3 separate regions of the Homo sapiens genome follow, and all the other regions are linked to region 1. Evidence: promoter capture Hi-C in human tissues and cell types (Jung and others, 2019). All regions are on one chromosome and are shown on one strand. Each heading gives the region's core, a stretch centred on a gene start or on the middle of the fragment in contact. The rest is flanking DNA. Distances are from core to core; before and after follow the strand shown.

Evidence for each region. The method cuts DNA at HindIII sites, captures the fragments that hold promoters and counts their contacts. A contact is called where the count stands out against the background at its distance.
Region 2: a contact is called between a fragment that was not itself captured here and the fragment with the promoter of TM9SF3 in region 1, in 1 of the 25 tissues and cell types used here (lymphoblastoid cells).
Region 3: a contact is called between a fragment that was not itself captured here and the fragment with the promoter of TM9SF3 in region 1, in 1 of the 25 tissues and cell types used here (hippocampus).

What each region holds. Positions count from the first base shown.
Region 1 is chr10:96,585,422-96,588,404 of GRCh38, reverse strand. It overlaps TM9SF3 (transmembrane 9 superfamily member 3), which reads left to right and starts at 1,393. Exons shown (of 15, transcript NM_020123.4): 1 at 1,393-1,671. The coding sequence starts at 1,570. LOC105378443 (a long non-coding RNA gene) reads right to left here and starts at 1,341. Exons shown (of 3, transcript XR_946220.4): 1 at 62-1,341. RefSeq lists an enhancer at 226-285 and a silencer at 1,164-1,733. The HindIII fragment of the contact is 5,763 bases long and covers 1-2,983 here.
Region 2 is chr10:96,987,919-96,990,901 of GRCh38, reverse strand. LCOR (ligand dependent nuclear receptor corepressor) reads right to left here. Exons shown (of 8, transcript NM_001346516.2): 8 at 1-2,983. Among named protein-coding and RNA genes, the nearest start is that of SLIT1-AS1, 110 kb to the left of the region's middle. The HindIII fragment of the contact is 6,513 bases long and covers 1-2,983 here.
Region 3 is chr10:96,948,456-96,951,438 of GRCh38, reverse strand. LCOR (ligand dependent nuclear receptor corepressor) reads right to left here. Exons shown (of 8, transcript NM_001346516.2): 6 at 2,144-2,431. The coding sequence starts at 2,381. Among named protein-coding and RNA genes, the nearest start is that of LCOR, 120 kb to the right of the region's middle. The HindIII fragment of the contact is 5,356 bases long and covers 1-2,983 here.

The sequences.
Region 1 (2,983 bases), core at 144-2,643:
ATTTTCTTCAACTTGAAAATTTAACAGAACCTCTTGGTTATCATTCCATGCCAGTACTTACCTATTTCCTTTTTTTAAAGTGGCTGTATAGTTGGTAAATCATTACCAGCAAAAAGACCTATTATGGAGCCAGACTGAGTGGGTCTGGTGTTTCAGCAAGCCACTCAAGCTCTCTGTGCTTCAGTTACCTCATCTGTAACAGGAACATTTTCACCGTACCTGCTGCATAGGGTTTCTGTGAGAATTTAATGAGCCAATATCGTTCAGAATAGTGCCTGGCAGATGAACGCCCTCGTGGTGACTCCATGATTTATTTACCTAACATTGAAGAACTGTTTTAAGCAAGGGAGTGAGCGATATAATCTGGTTTCTTTTTAGAATAAAAAAAACATCACCCTGGCACCTGTTGGGGATGTTAAACGGGAGGAAGATCAGTCAGTGATGGATATCTTCTTGTGAGACTCTTGCAATACATAGTGATACGGAAGACTGGTTGGTACTGGCAGAGGAAGGAGAGGAAAAATAAACTCTTGAACCACTTTTAAGAGACCAAATGCTAGAACTTGTTGACTGCTGATGGCTGAGAAGAGACAATCTGACAAGTTCGAGATTTTTGGCTTAGTGGCCTGTGTAAATGGTGGTGCCACATTCGTATATTTTTTTTTTTTTAAAGATTTTTTGTTTCAGTGTCTACTACGGATCTGGCACTGTTCTAGGTACAGGAAATACGGAAACAGGATCTCTGCTCCGAGGAGCTTACACTCCAAGAGATATTTATGACTGGGAAGAGGAGACCCAGAAATAGTTAAGTAAACACATAAATGAACAAGAATGGCAAGCTAACTTAGCATGTCTTGATTGAACAGTAGGGGTCCAGTAAATATTCAGTAACTTTAAAACATCCAACCCTGTACGAGTTTAACAATCTCTCCTAACGGTGATTACAGGAGCCCGTGATTCATTCACAGCGGCAGACGAGCGCCAGGAAAGGGTTATTTGATCTGATCCCTCAAGTTCCGGAGGCAGCAGGTCAGACGATCGGCCCCATTTGGCAGCCAGGAAAAAAGCTTAAGCATTTTGGCCAAGGTTACACAACCCGAAACACCGGGACGCGGCCCGGAGGCGGCTTCGGCCTTGCGGTCCAGGCTAGGCCACTGCGCCGGGGCCCAGCCTGCTCGGCGCCCGCCCGAGTGCTCGGCAGGCCCGTAGCGCCGCGGCTCCCAGGAGCCGAGGGGCAGCCGGCGCGCAGGCGGCGGTTGCCGGGCCCTCCCTCGGCCCGGCGGCGGTGGCGGCCCCGCGTCGCGAGGCACTTCCGGCGCGTGCCGGGGTGGCCGGATGACGTGGCTGAGTCAGAGGAAGAGGCTGAGGAGGCGCGGGGGGCGGGGGAGGCTCAGGAGCGGGCGGTGACGGCGACGGCGGCGGCAGAGGAGGCAGCGGCTGGGCCGGGCCCCGTGCGTCTGTCCGCGCCCCGTGGATGCGAATCGGCCGCGGCGGAGGCGGCGGCGGCGGAGGAGGCGGCGGCGGGAGGAGGAGTCGGTGAGCCGGCTCCGGGCCGGAGGGGCGCGGAGGATGAGGCCGCTGCCTGGCGCTCTTGGCGTGGCGGCGGCCGCCGCGCTGTGGCTGCTGCTGCTGCTGCTGCCCCGGACCCGGGCGGACGAGCACGAACACACGGTGAGGCGCCCCGGCCGGCGCGGCCGCCCCGGGCTAGCTCCCCAGTTGCCCACTGAGGCAGGCCCCACGCAGCCTGGAGTGCCCGGCGGCCCGGTGGTGCCCCACTGCGGCCCGAGGACTCCTTCCGGTTGGGCCTGGCGGAGCAGGAACCTTGGGAGCGTGGAGGAGGCATTTCCGTGCGCTCCCGGGACAGGGCTCCGCTCCCGAGTGACAGGGTCTCCTTCCCCCGGTCTGGGCCTCAGTGGCGCCGCACCCCAGGGTCTCGGGGTTCCTGGGACCCTGGGGCCAGGAAGGAGCCTGGGAAGGGTTGAGGTTCATCCACCGCGGGAGCGGGGCAACGGGCAGGCTGGGCTCGGGGCTTTTGCCCCCCAGGGAAGGAGACTGCCTTCTGGCTACTGAGGGCTGCGACGCCGAGGAAGATGGATGCATCGTGATTACCCGGCAGCCACTAACCAGGAAATATCCTACACTTTATGGTCTCCTTTGGCTTTTATCGCCCGCTTCTGCCCAGACCGGATTAAAACCCTGGGGTGGGGCAGCATTAATAAACTTGAATTGAAGAGCAGTTTATACTTACTTGTAAGTGCACCCAACCTACACGCGTTCAATTCCTAGGCCTTTCTTGTAACTTTCTCCTCACCTTCCAGCCCCTAAGTGAGACCCCCATCCCGATAGTCTCTAACTAAGGCAGCTTCTGACAGTAAAGGGTCTTGACGTTTCCCAGTCTTCAGGTCAGGGCCAGAAACAGTCCCTTTTGCATTTGGCCTAAAGGTGATTGGCAGTTTGTTTAATTGGTATTCTCACATCAAAACGTGCATGTGAACGACTCTTCAAATGGCTTTCACTTAGGGCTGTAACTGTGGTTTTCAGAGTGGTAGACTTGAGCAAGGCAGGAAGGTCAGGTAAATTGAGAGTTTGCTTGACGAGTAATTGTTTTTTATACCTTTACCATTAATGATAGGAGTTTCTATGAGAGACTGTGTTTGTACTAAATCAGAACGATCTGAGGGAGTCTTATGTCATTTCTGGTAAGTGAGGAAATGAAGCAGTCGTCCTTACCTATTTAATGGATCCGATTTTATTTGTAATCAACAAAACTTTTCGCTGGATCCTTGGCTAGCTGGGATCTTATTTTAGCTAATAAAAGCTCTAAACTTTTGACTGTTCTACCTTCGGTCACAGCCAGAAACTTCTTACCTGTGTAGGTATGTATTTCTTTAGAGACACAAATCTCGAATTGGTGACATGTTTTTGTACTGTACTTGTGGTGTTTCACCTAAGATAATTTTGTTGGGAGGTTAAACAGCTTAAA
Region 2 (2,983 bases), core at 281-2,780, 400 kb before region 1:
AGCACCCCGTGTGGGATGGTCCCAGCTAGGGGAGAAAGTATGTGTGTCTGTGCTCACCCGGCAGCATAACTACACAACTGCCCCTCTGAAGGATGGAGCAAAGGACATCTCCTGAGCACTGAGCATCAAGCACTGAGGCTCTGGGAAAAGGAAGATCAGACAGAGAGGAGGTAAGTGGAAGGAACTGAGCAGCTTCGGTTCAATCCCAAGGCAAAAGCCTGAGCAAGGACACACTCCACAAAGTGCTCAGGGTGGTTCCCCGGGCCCCAGGACGGCATGACACAGCACAGCACAGCAAAGCCCTGAGAGCTCTGAGTTTCTGCCTGAGTCTAATTATCTATAAAGGAAAGAGACTGGATCCTCAAGTCTTCCAATCCATCCATTGTAGAATACAGGACTCTGTTCTGATGTTTCAAAGGATGAATTATATTGAAGGCTGCCTCAAAAGACTTCCCAGTCTGGGCAACACAGTGAGACCTCATTTCTGCTAAAACTGGAAAAAAAAAAAAAATTAACTGGGTGTGGTGGCATGCACCTGTAGTCCCAGCTACTCAGGAGGCTGAGGTGTGAAAATCTCTTTGAGCCTGCAGTGGGCGTCATAAAAATGAAGATGACTATACTTTCAAAAAACTGTACTTTTAAACTACATACCCTAATAGATAAGACCATATGCCCATTGCACTCCAGCCTGGGGCGACAGAGTGAGACCCTGTCTGGGGGCTGGGCAGGGGGAGGGGAAGGCCCTCCCACAATTCTGCTCGTTTTAAATACAATAATCTTTTTATTTTTCCCCTGAAAAGGATTTGAGAGCAAGCATGGGGAATAGCACTTACTGCTAGGATATGAAGACCGCCTTACACAGATCAATTTTATACTTAAAAAAAATTCCAGTATTTCAGTGGATATCAAGTCACAATAAGACATCAAAGTAATACTAAGAATTCAAAATGATAATTGTTTCAAAACAACTAAAACGATCAGTGATTTGGGGCCACTGACAAAAATTTTTCACTGACAGGACATTGAATCACATTAAAAAAAAACCAGCATAGAAACTCATACTTGGGTTGGTGCGGTGGCTCACTTGTAATCCCAGCACTTTGGGAGGCTGAGGTGGGAGCACTGCTTGAGGCCAGGAGTTTCAGATCAGCCTCGGCAACATAGCGTAACCTCGTCTCTATTAAAAAAAAAAAAAAAAAAAAAAAATATATATATATATATATATATCCTTATCCTTGAGTTTTTGGAAAAGGAGGAAGACTATAATAGCTTTTCAGTCATACTCTGGTTATAACTCCAATTTTTTAAATCAATATTAAAGCACTTCAAAAGCCTCTATGTTTTATTTGTTGGCTTACCTTTAATAAAATTATTTTGAAAGTATGTGGCTGAAAAGGTATCAGTACCAAAATATTATATAAGAATAAACAAAGCTTTGGGATTGTGATCAGACTTTGTTTCTACTCTGTGAAAAAACATTTTCCATATCTAAATGTGACATTCAGAGGACTAAAAGTCCAACTAAAGTAGTCTCAACTAATTTTACCAGAAACAAAATCTTGGCTTACTTTAATAAACAAGAAATAAAGCCAGAGTCAGTTCTGTGTGAGTGAAATGAGAGGCCCAGGCCACATAATTTTAGAACTCTGAATCCCTATTTGCTCATGGGTTCCGGCTCGATACGGTAAGGTGGCCTCATTTTGGCTACTGTGATGGTTTTTTTTAAGAAGATGGAATGCTAAGGTTGCTCAAGTTTAAGGGGATAGTAGTGCATATCGATATAACATGTCTCCTTTGAAAAGAAAAAATGGAGACAAGGAAAATGAGAAGTAAAGAAGAACAGAGAGAAAAGGGCAGAAGAGAGAAGGAAAATCAAGAATATTTGTTCCTGAAAAGGATGACTTTCTCAAGCAGGGATCAGCAGATGTTTTCTGAAGGTCCAGATAGTATCTTAGGCTGTAAGGGCCACACGGGTCTCTGCCGCAGCTACTCAACTCTGCTCTTGCAGTGCGAAAGCAGCCGCAGACAGAACTTAAGAAAATGGGTGTGGCTATATTCCAAACACATTTTATTTACACAAACAAGCGACCAGCCCACAGTTGGCAGACCCTTGACAGATCATCTGGAATCCGAAAGGCAGTCTGCACAGAACTTGCTGATAGTAACACTACAGCATCTCCAGCTTGTATCACATAGCATGCTATATTTTCCTACTTGGCTCTTAGGTCCACTAATCAACAGGAATGCTGCCCATAAATGTGAATGACAGCTCCCACCCTCATGACCGAACCCATTACAAAGCAGGAAAAGAGGCCAAACCTCAATTCAAAGTAATTATCTTGAAGTGATGCCTTTTACTGATGACCTATCTGAACAGTGAGAAATTCACCTGCATAGTATGTGATGCATAGAGATCCCATTAGAAAGCACCACATATGTAAAGGGATGACTAAGGGCACCTCTTCTATCCATACGATTTTAGGAACAATACAGCAGGAGACTCACAGCCTAAGATTATCATTTTAGATAAGGCTGCACAGAAGTCTTTAACAAGGAATCCAAGGGGCTAGTGACTGGTGACTTACAGAAACTGACAGCATTCCTATGAAGGAAGCCTCAGGAGCAGAATAAAGGTTCACAACCTTCCTGCTGTGCTGCAAGATTGTTACCTGTCTGAGGAAGTGCTAGGGGTGAGGCTCAGGACCCCAAGTGAGGGAGTGGTCTCCTGCATGTCCATCTATAGCAGGGAGTCTCGTAGGATAGAAGATGGGTGTCCTGAAGAGGGCCCTCCTCTACGGGAGCTATGGCAGAGCTTCAGTGATTGCTTCCCAGGCATCTTCCAGCTTCTCCAGAAACTCAGAGAATACCAGTGTCCTTTGGTCATCAACTTCAGCCCCAAGACTGGAACAGTCATTTCACTGAGTGTACACCCAGGAGAATTCCTTTCTGATTTGGATCGGAATGTGGGATGGACTGCTTTTGC
Region 3 (2,983 bases), core at 311-2,810, 360 kb before region 1:
CAATTGCTGAATTTTATGAATGCAAGAATTTTTCAATTAAGAAGACAATAAAAATTGGTGAAGAAAGTTTAAAGAAAGAAGAATGAAACTGTCTTGATACTGATGAGAGCCTGGAAGTACAACCATTTTTTACTACAACTAGACCAAATCACAAATTCATGTTATTAATATATAAAATTAGAAGACTTTCTTTTCCCTCAAAGACGTTTTTCTCCTTGTTGAAATACCTGGAAAAGAAGTCTTTTAAAGCTACCACTCTGTCCAAAATTAACAGAACAAGATAATACACAATGTCTTTAATTTTCAGTTGGCCAGTAGAGGGGTCGTGCTATCTAGTTGTGTTAAAAATCACCCCAGAGTAGAAGCTACTTACAACTTGTATCTGAGGACATTTTATTTCCGGCTGTTAGAAATAAACAGGCAACAGAGTTTGTAAATAAAAAAACCCCACACTCATAAGAAAGAGTTTTGTCCTTTACAGTCACTAGTACTTCTAAAAATATAATTATAAGCTTATAGAACCAATTATCCTATTAGACATCTAACCCAATTATACATCTAAGAAGCAAATGTACTACTGCTTACAACTTTTCCAACCAAAGACACTATTATTTAAACGCAAGTCAAATAGACAATTTGTCTAATCAAACAGGCAACATATTTTAAATCTACCACTAAAAATATTGTGGTTTTTGGCTGAAAACACATTCATTAAGGAAATATAATTTAAAATTTTTTTACTTCATTTGAAGTCTACACACTATAATGCTATCATGTAGTTCAAATTCCTCTTTTTAAGAGCATGCTGTCAATACAATGTATTGATCTCTTAAGTGTAACATTAGTTATAACAAGTTAAATTAGATTAAGTGGTATCATTTTATGTTAACCTCCATTAATACTTTAAATATTATTCTATGTTGTCATTCTCCTAATATAAACCTGAAACTTCTGATGCAATATTTAGAGTGAGGAGATCTTTAATGAAAACTACCAATTTGTGGAAAAGAAAACAGTCATCAATAAAAGATACAACTTTGTAAATATGGTAACCAAAGGAACATGAGCAATGTGAACAAGTAGGAGGTCTCCTGTCAAGAAATCTCTCAGAACTCAGATGTTTTGTTTGCTGTTCACCACACAGGAAAAGGATAAAAGCAAAGGAAAACTACTCAAAAGAAAGTTCATTTCAAAGAGGTTAAGAATTAAATTTATTTTCCAAAATAAACATGTATTTCTCACCAATAAATCCAATAAATAAAGGTTACAATAAATCTCGTAACCTTTCTGTATACTCAAGATTTCTATGACAATAAAATCTCATTAGTACAGACATCACCAATTTACAATTCGTAGTGGTTCAAACAGTGGCTGAGTTGAAATGCTTGCTTCAATTTTTGTGAAATTAAAGGTAAAATGAGATCACAAAGCAACAGGAATATCTACTGAAGAAAATAAACTTCAGAGACTCAAGAAACATTTGCTAAACAAAACTAATAACCTCTTAACTTCATCACTTAATTAGTGTCCTCATCAACAAATTCCCTTTTGGAAATACTTTCAAGTTAGTCAGTGGATGTGTGTGTTTATATATGTGTTTCTGTATTTATAAAACATTGAATATATTTAACAACCTAAAGTATGTTCTGCTGCTTTCTCTATTTGTAACCCTAGCAGTTTCTTTCTCAAAATTCGAATACATGTTTTTCCTTATGATCTCATTTGCAGAGTATATAACTTATACCTGCAAGTAGAGGCATATTTCTCAGACAGGTGCTAGTCCTAGAAAATTTTTAGTTAATAAGAAAACTTACTTTTTCATAGGAGTTTTAAAAAACATAAAAATACTATGGAAAATATAAAATGCTTATATAAATATCAAGTAACTGAAAGATTAGTGACAACTGTTAACCACCTGACTTTCCTGAGTGGTACATCAATCATGACTATGAACTGCTGACAGATAAGGCTGTAACAACTTTAGCTGTACTTCTCCATCACTGCATAGTAAGAAATAATTTAAGAATCACATTAGTTTTTATGCTATTATTGCTGCTGATGCTCTACTTGCCAATGCTTTTTTTTTTCTCCCCAAAGTAAAGTATTCTGATAAGATAGAGGAGACCTTGACATCAAACCATACCTTGTTCGCTAGGTTCTGACTGAGACTTTCTGACAGTAAGGTCCAGAGGTGAGTCTTGGTCAGCCATGAGAAGTTTGCTGAGCACAGGGTTCTGAGTAGTTGCAGCCGTGGGAGAGGTGGTGACTGGAGATGCTTTCGGCAGGCTTTGGTTCTTTGTGCTATTGGGCTGGCTGGGGTCCTGAGTAGAGCTATTTTTTGAGGTATATTCAGCAGCAAATTGTTGGATCATTCGCTGCATGATCTCACGGGCCACTAGGGGAATATTGGGGTCGGAGACCCAGGGACTGTCTGTAAATAAAGATTTATTTACTTTTAAAGTGGGACAATGTACTAAAAAAGACAGCTTTCAAGTAAACATAAAATTTCATTTTATTTTTCTTAAAATGCAGTTATCTTAAAAATAGTATCTCCCCTTTGACTTATGTTTTCTAAGCTTTTGAGTTGTCTATTTTTAAAAATAAAATTTTTATTAAAATAATTCTAAACATCTTCCCCCATATAATAATTGAATATTATGAAATTAAATAAAGGGATAACAACTAGAATATCTTATGGGCAAGAATCACTTACCTGATACAGAAATCCCAAAACCCTTCACTTAGGAAATACTCTCATGTTAACACACCTATAGGTCACATCAAGTAACCCTAGACTTTTTCCTCAGCCACCTTCTCCTAAATATTTGAAGAATGCATTACTGAGTTCATGAGTGCTTAATTTACTTTATATTAAAGACAGAAGGCATACCAAGATTATAAAAGGAGATACTTAATTTTAAGATCCATTTTAGGCTAGGGCAATCATTCTCACACTTTAATGTTCATCAGAATCACCCTGACA